3 separate regions of the Homo sapiens genome follow, and all the other regions are linked to region 1. Evidence: promoter capture Hi-C in 16 types of primary human blood cells and fetal thymus (Javierre and others, 2016). All regions are on one chromosome and are shown on one strand. Each heading gives the region's core, a stretch centred on a gene start or on the middle of the fragment in contact. The rest is flanking DNA. Distances are from core to core; before and after follow the strand shown.

Region 1 (3,632 bases), core at 188-2,687:
CGGAGGCTTACAATATGACAAAGCCGGGAGGAGTCCCCAAGCCACCCGGATTTACAGATTTTCTTCTGAACTGTGGCAGAAGCCACAATCACTGACTTCTGAAGAGCAGAGCCATCTCCACTGGTTCTGAAGAGGGAGTGTGAGTGTGAGAGGCAGCAATCCAGAGGCCCCAGCAGGGCTGCAAACCTCACAGCACCCAGGCTGCCTGAGCCACTCCTAGAGAATGGGGTTGGATTCTGGCAGGTGCACCTGGCAGCCCTGGCTCCACCACAGGAATCACTGCTGTGGCTACGTGGACTCTACATGCCTGGTGCCACCTTCTCCCTCTCCTCCTGGAATTGAGCTGTCTCTGGAAAGGCTGAAAGTGATGTCCCGCCACAGAGAGAAGGGTTTTTCCCCAGGCATTCCAGGACCGGGAACCCAACCGCGGCCGCGGCCACAGCCCCTCCTGCGCACCTGCACGATGAGGGGCCGGTCCTCGGGGCACACCTCGCAGTACAGGTTCTCCTTCCGGTAGTTGGCGTCGCGGACAAAGACCTGGGCATGCAGCATGGGCGTGTAGCAGAGCTGTGCCCCGTGGCGCCGGCTCAGCAGCCTCCAGGCCAGCTCGCTCTGGTCCACCATGGGGGCCACGACGTGGCGGGCCCCTCGCAGGGTGCGGCTCCAGAACTCGAAGCCCTGCAGCTTTGGCATCGTCTCCAGGCTGGGGGAAAGGCGCAGACCCGGGGTTCAGCCAGGCCCAACGAGGGGCTTAAGACTCAACTCAGAGGCAGCGGTCACCCTTCTAAGGCCGCTCCAGTACCACCGTTGGGTCACACGCGGGGGCACTAAAGGCGGGGGTCGGTGCAGGCTGGAGAACGGCCACTCCAGTGCCGCCACCTCCTAGCGGACCTCGGGGGAGCCGCTGGACCCCTGGGACTTGACCCTCCCTGGGGAGCGGGACTCGATGTCGGCCTGGTAGGGGACTGGCGTGAAGGGGGAAGAAACCTTGACGCCAGCGTCCCCGCGGGCCTGGCCCTGAGCAGGCCGCCCGGCGGTGAAGTTAGGACCCCCGGCCCCTTCCCGGGAGAATCGGCTCCGCGCCGGGCCAGGGGAAGGGCAGAGCTTCCTTCTCCGCACCCGGCCAGGCGGCCCGGCTGGCCCGAAACGCCACAGGGGCGCCCCTCGCGAGACTCCTCCGGAGCCACGCGGCGGGCAGCGTTTGCTGTGTGAAGTGACAGGAGCCCACACGCCTCCGCGTCCTCACCGCGCGAGGGCCCCGCCGTGTCCGCCGCGCGCCTTTGGCTCCGAGGGCGCCGGGTGCCGGTGTCCCGGGCCCGCCCCTCTCCGGCCTCGCCGCCGCCCGGGGCCCCTGCAGCTCCCGGGGCGCCGCGAACGCCCGCACCGCGCCGGGGCCGCCGCCGGGCCGCAGCCGGGCCCAAGGCTCCGCGCCGCCACCGGAAGGTGCCCGGTCCTGCGCGGTCCGGGCGGCCCACGGTGCGGCGGGAAACGCGTTCCCCGGAAACCGCGCCCGGCTCCGAGGGGACCGGCGACGAGAGGTCGCGGCGCGGGGTCGGAGGTCAGAGGCTGAGGTCACCACCGTACCCGTCAGGCCGTGGCTAGAGAGGGGTCGGGGCTCGCCGGGACTCACCGACAGCTCGCTGGAAACGAGGCATGTGGAAATTGGGCCTCGCTGAGGCGCACATAAGGCCCGGGCCGCGGGTAGACCGTGGGCGCTGAGGCCCTGCGCTGCCCAGCCCCCAAGTTCGCATTGGGGGCTTCATCCCGTTATATCCTAAAGCGGCCCCAGAGCCCTGCCTCGAACCCACTCACCTGCCGCCTCTGAAAGCCACTCACTTTCCGCCGCTGCGTTGCGGAAAATCACCCTCCAGGGACCTTCCTTGCCCGCCCTGGGTTTCCGCAGCCGCCAGCCTTCGATCGACTTTCCTACCCGCCGTGGACCCTCCTTGGGTTATTTCGAGCTGTGGGGACCCACTGGGAACCCCAGAGTGGATGTGAAGGTTATTTTAAACTGAAGGCATTTGAGACCCAACAGATGTAAAAAGCAGCTTTGTCAGAGCTTTCCATATCTGAGAGCGAAGCCCGAAGTTGAACCAGGACATTCAGTACCTAAAACATGTGAAATCTCTTGGGCCCCCGGAATCACTAAGGAAAACTCAGGCTGGAAGCTGCTCAGGGCAAACCTGCCTCCCGCTCTATTCAGAGTCACCCTCTGCTCGCTGAGATAGATGGATATCTGACTGACTCCTTTGAAAAGGCTCATCAGAAGGCTGGGCGCGGTGGCGCACATTGAGACCAGGAGTTCGAGACCAGCCTGGCCAACACGGTGAAACCCTGTCTCTACTGAAAATACAAAATTAGCCAGGTGTGGTGGTGCGCCCCTGTAGTCCCAGCTACTCGGGAGGCTGAGGCAGGAGAATCGCTTGAACCTGGGAGGCGGAGGTTGCAGTGAGCCGAGATCAAGCCATTGTACTCCAGCCTGGCGACAGAGCAAGACTGATCAAAAAGGAAAAGAAAAAAAAAAAAGGCTAATCAGAAACTCAAAACAATGTAACCGTTTGTGTATCACCTATCTGTGACCAGGAAGCTCCCTCCCCGATGGCTTTTGCTTTAAATTGTCCCGCCTTTCCAGACTGAACCAATTTTTTTTTTTGAGACGGAGTCGCTTTCTGACCCAGGCTGGAGTGCGGTGGCGTGATCTCGGCTCACTGCAACCTCCATCTCCCAGGTTCAAGCGATTCTCCTCCCTCAGCTTCCCAAATAACTGGGATTACAGGCACCCACCAACACACCCAGCTAATTTTAGTATTTTTAGTAGAGATGGGGGTTTCACCATGTTGGCCAGGCTGGTCTCGAACTCCTGACATCAGGTGATCCGCTGGCCTCCCAAAGTGCTGGGATTACAGGCGTGAGCCACCGCAGCTAGCCGCTATGTTCATCTTACATATATTGATTGATGTCTCATGTCTCCCTAAAATGTATAAAACCAAGCTGTGCCCCAACCACCTCAGGCACATGTTGTCAGGACCTCCTGAGGCTGTGCCATGGGCATGTCCTCAACCTTGGCAAAATAAACCTTCTAAATTAACTGAGACCTGTCTCAGATTTTCTGCATTCACAGATAGAACAGCCTTGGTGGTCTTCAGAGGTGGCCAGATGTCCCTGGTGGACTGCAAGGTTGGGTGCACACTAAGGAAAGACAGGCGAGGGCCCCAGCTGTCCACCGCCCTGGCTGAACGTGAGGCTTTGTACAAGCAAAAAGTAAAAGCCAAGTCCAAATTGTAAAAACTACCTGAATTCCAAATGCAGCCACAACCCACACACAGCGCCATCAGCAGAGGCTGGAGGCCCTACTGGTTCAGAATATTTAAGCACAGTATCGAACCAGTAATTGTAAAAGGTAAAAGATTTTTTTTTTAAGACAGAGTCTCGCTCTGTCACCCAGGCTGGAGGGCGGTGGCACGATCTCTGCTCACTGCAAGCTCCACCTCCCAGGTTCAAGCGATTCTCCTGCCTCAGCCTCCCGAGTAGCTGGGACTACAGGTGCCCGCCACCACACCCGGCTAATTTTTTGTATTTTTAGTAGAGATGGGGTTTCACCATTAGCCAGGATGGTTTCGATCTCCTGACCT
Region 2 (3,750 bases), core at 398-2,897, 280 kb after region 1:
CCACATCTGGCTCCCGTGTTCCCGGCTGTCACGCAGGGTCACGTCGTCCCCAAAGTTCTGCTAACACGAATGAAGTCTCGTTGGTGTGACATCAAACAGCTACGAAGGCCGTTTCTGTGACCCGGAGGCCACACGCCGAGTCTCCGGGACGAAGCCTCGCTTGGCAGAGCCGCCGGGGCCTGGTCTCTGTGTTCTGTGCCACAGATGCCACACGACTGTTTCCCACTCCCTGTGTTTACGTGGGACCCAAAGATAACTGTTTTCCCGAAATTAATATAATTCCTAAGATAATTTTTCATGAAATTGGAAAAACTGGTTCTAAAATTCATACGAAGGCCGGTGTGGTGGCTCCCGCCTGTAAATCCCAGCACTGTGGGAGGCCGAGGCGGGCGGATCACGAGGTCAGGAGATCAAGACCATCCTGGCTAACACGGTGAAACCCCGTCTCCACTAAAAAAATACAAAAAATTAGCCAGGTGTGGTGACGGGCGCCTGTAGTCCCAGCTACTCAGGTAACTGAGGCAGGAGACTGGCGTGAACCCGGGAGGCGGAGCTTGCAGTGAGCCGAGATCGCGCCACTGCACTCCAGCCTGGGCGACAGAGCAAGACTCTGTCTCAAGAAAAAAAATAAAAATAAAAAATAAAATTCGTACGAAAGAGCAAAGAGGGCCGGGCGTGGCAGCTCACGCCTGTAACCCCAGCACTTTGTGTCACGTGCGTCCATGTGAAGAGACACCAACAGGCTTTGTGTGAGCAACAAGGCTGTTTATTCACTTGGGTGCAAGTGGGCTGAGTCCGAAAAGAGTCAGCAAAGAGAGGTAGGGGTGGGGCCGTTTTATAGGACTGGGGTAAACAGTGGAAAGTTACAGTGAAAGGTGGTTACCTATTGTCAGCAGAGGAGGGGGTCACAAGGTACATGGTGGGGAGATCATAAGACTCATTGTCCGGAAGAAGAATGTCACGAGGTCGATCGATCAGGTGGGACAGGGCAGGAACAGGTCATCATGGAATGTCGTAAGGTTGGTCAATCAGTTAAGACAGGAGCTGGCTGTTTCATTCTTTTGTAGATTTGGGTTGCCCCAGACTTCTTGGCTCTTGCAGGCCATCTGGACATACATGTGCAGGTCACAGGGGTTACAATGGCTGAGCTTCGGCTCAGAGGCCTGACACACCTGACACAAGGGAGCGTGTGTCTGAGGGCGCAGCAGCCAAGGAGCGGCTTCCCCTCCCCAGGAGGGCTCCGAGGGGGAAGTCAGGAAGCTGTTTCTTGCACACGCGAGTGTGAAGCTGCAAACTGCTCAGCGGCAGGTTCGGGTTTAAAAACTCAAAACTTAAAAAAATTAGCTAGCCGCCACAGTGTGGGGGGAAGAACCACTCTGCTTTTAAATACAAGAGATGGCACAAGATTTCGGGATAGTGCCCATGTGGGCGACCCCGACCCGGTCCCCGCCCTGCTTGTGCCAAGGATCCTCAGGCACCCGGGGCTTCCTGTTTATACAGCAGAACGCCCTCTCTCTGGAGACAGAGAGACAGAAGGGTCCCAGCCTGAACACCCCCCTCTGGAGACAGAGAGACTGAGGGGGTCCCAGCCTGAACGCCCCCTCTCTGGAGACAGACTGAGGGGGTCCCAGCCTGAACGCCCCCTCTCTGGAGACAGACTGAGGGGGTCCCAGCCTGAACGCCCCCTCTCTGGAGACAGAGAGACAGAGGGGTCCCAGCCTGAACGCCCCCTCTCTGGAGACAGACTGAGGGGGTCCCAGCCTGAACGCCCCCCTCTGGAGACAGGCTGAGGGGGTCCCAGCCTGAACGCCCCCTCTCTGGAGACAGAGAGACTGAGGGGGTCCCAGCCTGAACGCCCCCTCTCTGGAGACAGAGAGACTGAGGGGTCCCAGCCTGAACGCCCCCTCTCTGGAGACAGACTGAGGGGGTCCCAGCCTGAACGCCCCCTCTCTGGAGACAGACTGAGGGGGTCCCAGCCTGAACGCCCCCTCTCTGGAGACAGAGAGACAGAGGGGTCCCAGCCTGAACGCCCCCCTCTGGAGACAGGCTGAGGGGGTCCCAGCCTGAACGCCCCCTCTCTGGAGACAGAGAGACTGAGGGGGTCCCAGCCTGAACGCCCCCTCTCTGGAGACAGAGAGACTGAGGGGGTCCCAGCCTGAACGCCCCCTCTCTGGAGACAGAGAGACAGAGGGGTCCCAGCCTGAACGCCCCCCTCTGGAGACAGGCTGAGGGGGTCCCAGCCTGAACGCCCCCTCTCTGGAGACAGACTGAGGGGGTCCCAGCCTGAACGCCCCCTCTCTGGAGACAGAGAGACTGAGGGGTCCCAGCCTGAACGCCCCCCTCTGGAGACAGAGAGACTGAGGGGGTCCCAGCCTGAACGCCCTCTCTCCGGGCTCTTCCACCAGAGCTAAGACCTTCTGATTTTCTTGTCTTGTCTTTTGAGACAGGGTTTTGCTCTTGTCACCCAGGCTGGAGTGCAATGGTGCGTTCTTGGCTCACTGCAACCTCCGCCTCCCAGGCTCAAGTGATTCTCCTGACTCAGCCTCCTGAGTAGCTGGGATTACAGGTGCCTGCCACCACGCCCGCCTAATTTTTGTATTTTAGTAGGGACGAGGTTTCACCGTGTTGGCCAGGCTGATCTTGAACTCTTGACCTCAGGTGATCCCCACACCTCGGCCTCCCAAAGTTCTGGGATTACAGGCGTGAGCCACTGCACCCAGCCAATGCCTTCTGGTTTTTCTGATTTTTCTGATCTCTCATTTTCCTTTCTAGAAGGGAGGCCTCTTGTCATCCTATCTCTACCCGCAGAAAATAGGATTTGAGTTTCTATTTGAGTGCTGGGACCAGCGTTGGAGGGAGGGAAGACATCAGAGCCAGAGCCCCTCCAAGACTGCCCCCCAGGGCCTGGGGCTGCAGGGGGCTGGCCCTGCTGGGAAGGAGAGGCTGCCAGGTGGGGTCCTGGGCCAAGGTCCCAGCATAAACACCCACGAAACCCCCTGGGCTGGCCGGCTGCCACCCTGCCCTGCTCCTCGCCTCATAGCTTTCCACGAGACCCCCTGGGCTGGCCGGCTGCCACCCTGCCCTGCTCGCCTCATAGCTTTCCTTCACCTCTCTCTCCTTCACAAACTCACCCAGCCCCACGTCTGACACACATTTCTAAATCTATCTTCCTTGTCAATAATTCAACCAACGCTTTTATTTGTCAAAGAGAAACCTGCCATAGTGGGAATTTACAGCCACAGTCCCCACGACGTAAATGTTTCCCTCTCACATTTGGAAACCTGCTGTGTTGGAATTGAATAGTAAATAGGAGAATTATAATAAATGAAATAAGCCAGCCGTCCCTGAAATACGATTGCTCCTCAGGACTTGAGGCTGATCTGAGCCAATTCTTCCACTGATCTCTACGCAGAGCCTCGGGAACTCCTAGAGGAGCATAAGTTCCAAACTGGAGACGCACATGCAGGGGCATAGAAGCCTCACTCTGAACAACTAAACAAAAGCATCTGATTTTAGAATTTAAAAATGTCTGTGGGGGGTGCCTCAGTTCCCCCCGTGACCCCAGCTCTGGTAGGGTCACTGCCACCCGCGCGTGCATGTCCTGGGATCCTGACCTCTCCTTCAAACCCACCAGAGCGATGCCAGGTGACTCTGGGGAGGCTCACCTGCTCAGGTGAGTAGAATCAACCCTGTCGGCCACTGGAGCCACTGGGGTAGCCGGGGCCGTGGAGCTCTGCACAGCCCGGGGGA
Region 3 (3,818 bases), core at 64-2,563, 480 kb after region 1:
CAGGCTGGTCTTGAACTCCTGGGCTCAAGTGTTCCTCCCACCTCAGACTCCCAAGTTCAGGGATAATAGGTGTAAGCCACTGAGCCCAACCTAAAACTCGCTTTTAAATAAAGAACTCAGGCCGGGTGCGGTGGCTCACACCTGGAATCCCAGCACTTTGGGAGGCCGAGGCAGATGGATCACCTGAGGTCAGGGGATTGAGACCATCCCGCCCAACATGGTGAAACCCCGTCTCTACTAAAAATACCAAAATTAGTCGGGCGTGGTGGTGGGTGCCTGTAGTCCCAGCTACTCTGGAGGCTGAGGTGGGAGAATCACTTGAACCCGGGAGGTGGAGGTCACAGTGAGCCGAGATGGCACCACTGCACTCCAACCTGGGCGACAGGAGCAAAAACTCCATCAAAAAAAAAAAAAAAGGAAGGAGAAAGAAAGAAAGAATACACTGATCTCTCTTATAGTGTATACTGTCTATTACTACTGATTTTAAAGCTACAACCTTAAGCATCATACTCCCTGTGTTTAGAATATTCAGGGTGTAGTATTGTGGTTCACATTGTAGTATTGTGGTTCTCCATTGTGGTTCCCCGGAAGTGATCAAGGTGATACTTTACATTCAGGGTGTCCAGTCTTTAGGCTTTCCTGGGCCACATTGGAAAAAGTATTGTCTACACTAACAAGAGCTGGTAAGCTGAAAAAATCACAAAAATCATAATGTTTTAAGAAAGTTTATGAATTTGTATTGGGCCACATTCAAAGCCATCCTGGGCTGCATGCAGCCCACGGGCCGTGGGTTGGACAAGCTTGTTTTAAGAGTTTAGGAAGAAAAATAATACTTCTGGTTATTTTTTTCATCCTGCTTAGTTGCTATTTTTCTGTTTTACAGTGTGCAATACTGTAATATAATTTATACATATATTAATATATTGTTGCCAGCTTATTTTTACTTTAAACTTTTTTTTGAGGAATATTTCACATAAAACAAACTTAAGGGTACCTTTCAAAGAGTTTTGACAGCTGTATACACCATGTAGCCGAAATCACAATCAAAATAATAGATCCAGATATTACCCCTCACCCCAAACCTTCCTCTTGCCCCTTGGCAGTCAGCCTCATCCCCCTGGAGAGTCCCAGACACTCAACTCTGTGCCTCCCCTCCCGTAGAAGTGTTTTCTTCCAGGGTTTCATAAACATGGAATCATGTAGAATATACTGGTGTTTGGCTCGCTCTTATTCACATGGTATATTTGAGGTTCATCAGTGTTACTTGTGTGGGCAGTTTTCCTTTGCGATTGCTGGGCGGCAGCTGAGTGGATTCTCTTCTATGGATGTACCCCCATTTGTGGATCCATTCACCTACGGCTGACTGTCTAGACAGTGTCCAGTCTGGGCTGCTGTGCATCACGCTGCTGTGAACGTCTGTGTAGGAGTCACATTTGTGTGAACTGGTGCTCTCACTTCTCTTGGCAGATAACTACAAGTACGAGTGGTGGGGCCAGGTGGTCAGTGTGCATTTATTTCACAGAAAAGCTGACCCACTTTTCCAGAGCAGTTGCACCAGTTTGTATTCTTGCTGGCAGTATGTGACAGCTAGTTGCTCCATATCCTTGTCAGCACTTGGTTTTGTCAGTCTTCTTATATTAGCCATTATCTGGGTGTGTAGTGGTATGTCAGTATGTGTATTTTTTTTTAATACTTTGGATCATTTACATCAACCGTGGTTTAATTTGCCTTGCTGTTGAGCATCTCTACATGTGCTTTTGGCCATTTCTATGTCATCTGTAGTGAATGACCATTTTTAATGGGTTGTTTACCTTCTTACTGAATATTAAGCTTTGTTTATATACCCTGAACAGAAGTCCTTTGTGAGATAGGTGTATTGTGAATATTTTCTCCCATTCCATCCTTTGCCCTGTTTGTTGATACTGTATTTCATATATTCAAATATTGATTTCTACTTAATTTTTCACTTAGAGGTGTACAGTCAAAAGCATTTGGAGGCTACTGCTCAGCTGAATTAGCAGAAGGAATTGCTGTGGACTGAATAGAGGAAGGAAAGGACCCAGGCGCTGTCCCACAGCCTCTCCCGTGACCTCACCCTGGGGGAGGCATGGGTGTTTGGCAGAGAGCCCTTTTTGGTTTTACGTGAATGTCATTTGGGCGGGTGTGGGGTAGAATGATCTCAAGAGCATTCTCACCTCCGAGGAGCGGTTGCGTCTCGATGCATCGGCACAGGAGGGCTGTGCACTTTCCACTGCCACCACCCGTGAGACCTCCAGAGAGCCTGACCCTGCCATCTGCACTAAGATCCCCAGCTGTTGTCTGGTGATCCAGATGAGAGGACCAGCGTGATAGTTTCTCACAGCAGCCTCTGGCAGGACCTGGAGTGGAAATCTTCCTTAGTCTAAAACACATCCCGAATGACTGAACATTATAGGAGAATGTGTCTTTGTTTTACGAGGCCACTTGAAGTCCACCTCCCTCCTCTTCTGGGTGTGGCCCTTGCCTGTAGCTCCGAGTGTGAGGATCTTAAGTGTGAGGGTGTGTGCTCCTGAGCCAGCCTTTACCCCAACACCAAGTTGCCACACCGAACTGCAGACCTGGCAGCCCTGTCCAGCAACTTCCTTATCACAGTTACAGTGCAGCAAATGGGAGAGGGGCCAAAACCCCCAAAATTATTCTCCTTATTACAGTTACAGTACAGCAAATGGGAGAGGGGGGCCAAACCCCCAAAATTATTCTCCTTATTACAGTTACAGTACAGCAAATGGGAGAGGGGCCAAAACCCCCAAAATTATTCTCCTTATTACAGTTACAGTGCAGCAAATGGGAGAGGGGGGCCAAAACCCCAAAATTATTCTCCTTATTACAGTTGCAGTGCAGCAAATGGGAGATGGGGGGCAAAACCCCCCAAATTACTCTCCTTATTACAGTTGCAGTGCAGCAAATGGGAGATGGGGGCCAAAACCCCCCAAATTACTCTCCAAGCCAAAGGAAAACTCTGGATGCTCGATAGCCACTTACAGAGCTGCTCATCACATGCGTTGTTGGAACACCTAACACTAGCCTCCTGGTTATGAATGTTTCTGGAATCGAGCCTCCCTGATATGTGCCTACAGAAGCGGATCTGCCTGAGGACATCCGCCATTTCCTAATATTTATACCTTAGAATATAGAGCCAGCTTCATAACATGTGGGGTCCAGTGCAGAATGAAAACATGGGACCTGTAGTTGAGAAAGCAGGAAAAGGCCGGGCCCAGTGGCTCATGCCTGTAATGCCAGCACTTTGGGAGATTGAGGTGGGTGCATCACTTGAGCCCAGGAATTTGAGACCAGCTTCAGAAATACAGTGAGACCCCCATCTCTACAAAAACAAAACAGGCAGGTGTGGTGGTACGTGCCTGTAGTCCCAGCTATTCAGGAGGCTGAGGCGGGAGGATTGCTTCAGCCTGGGCTTGCAGTGAGCCATGATTGTGCCACTGCCTTCCAGCCTGGGCGACACTGCAAGACCTTGTCTCTAAACAAACACACACACACACACACAAAGAGCTTCTTTATGTCTTCTGTGGATTCCTGGCCTGCCATAGTGTTTTTAATTTGCCACTTGACTTCAAGCTTTCCCAGGAATACGTGTCTGAAGCAAGGCACCCCTGTTCACACCCCACCAGGGACATTGGACAGTTGTGGGGGAAGAAGGGGGTGCAGGAGCAAGATGGGCTGTGTCCCATTGAACTTCACTACAGAACACCAATTTAAAGATAAATGATTAGGGATTTCAAGATGTTGGCAGTAAGGCATTAAACTCCATGCCTGGCCCTTCT

The links. Contacts are between HindIII fragments. The CHiCAGO score rates a contact against its expected background, and 5 or more counts as called.
Region 2: a contact is called between a fragment that was not itself captured here and the fragment with the promoter of DUS1L in region 1, in 1 of 17 cell types (activated CD4 T cells). The highest score is 5.5, in activated CD4 T cells.
Region 3: a fragment that was not itself captured here is called in contact with the fragment with the promoter of DUS1L in region 1 in 1 of 17 cell types (non-activated CD4 T cells); the score reaches 6.1 in non-activated CD4 T cells.

What each region holds. Positions count from the first base shown.
Region 1 is chr17:82,064,367-82,067,998 of GRCh38, forward strand. It overlaps DUS1L (dihydrouridine synthase 1 like), which reads right to left and starts at 1,438. Exons shown (of 14, transcript NM_022156.5): 1 at 1,247-1,438; 2 at 457-703. The coding sequence starts at 693. RefSeq lists an enhancer at 78-806 and silencers at 1,030-1,079, 1,370-1,439, 1,450-1,509. The HindIII fragment of the contact is 12,631 bases long and covers 1-3,632 here.
Region 2 is chr17:82,345,665-82,349,414 of GRCh38, forward strand. No RefSeq gene overlaps it. Among named protein-coding and RNA genes, the nearest start is that of TEX19, 12 kb to the right of the region's middle. The HindIII fragment of the contact is 4,241 bases long and covers 1-3,750 here.
Region 3 is chr17:82,546,676-82,550,493 of GRCh38, forward strand. The region is part of intron 1 of FOXK2 (forkhead box K2); the gene reads left to right. Among named protein-coding and RNA genes, the nearest start is that of FOXK2, 29 kb to the left of the region's middle. The HindIII fragment of the contact is 1,030 bases long and covers 799-1,828 here.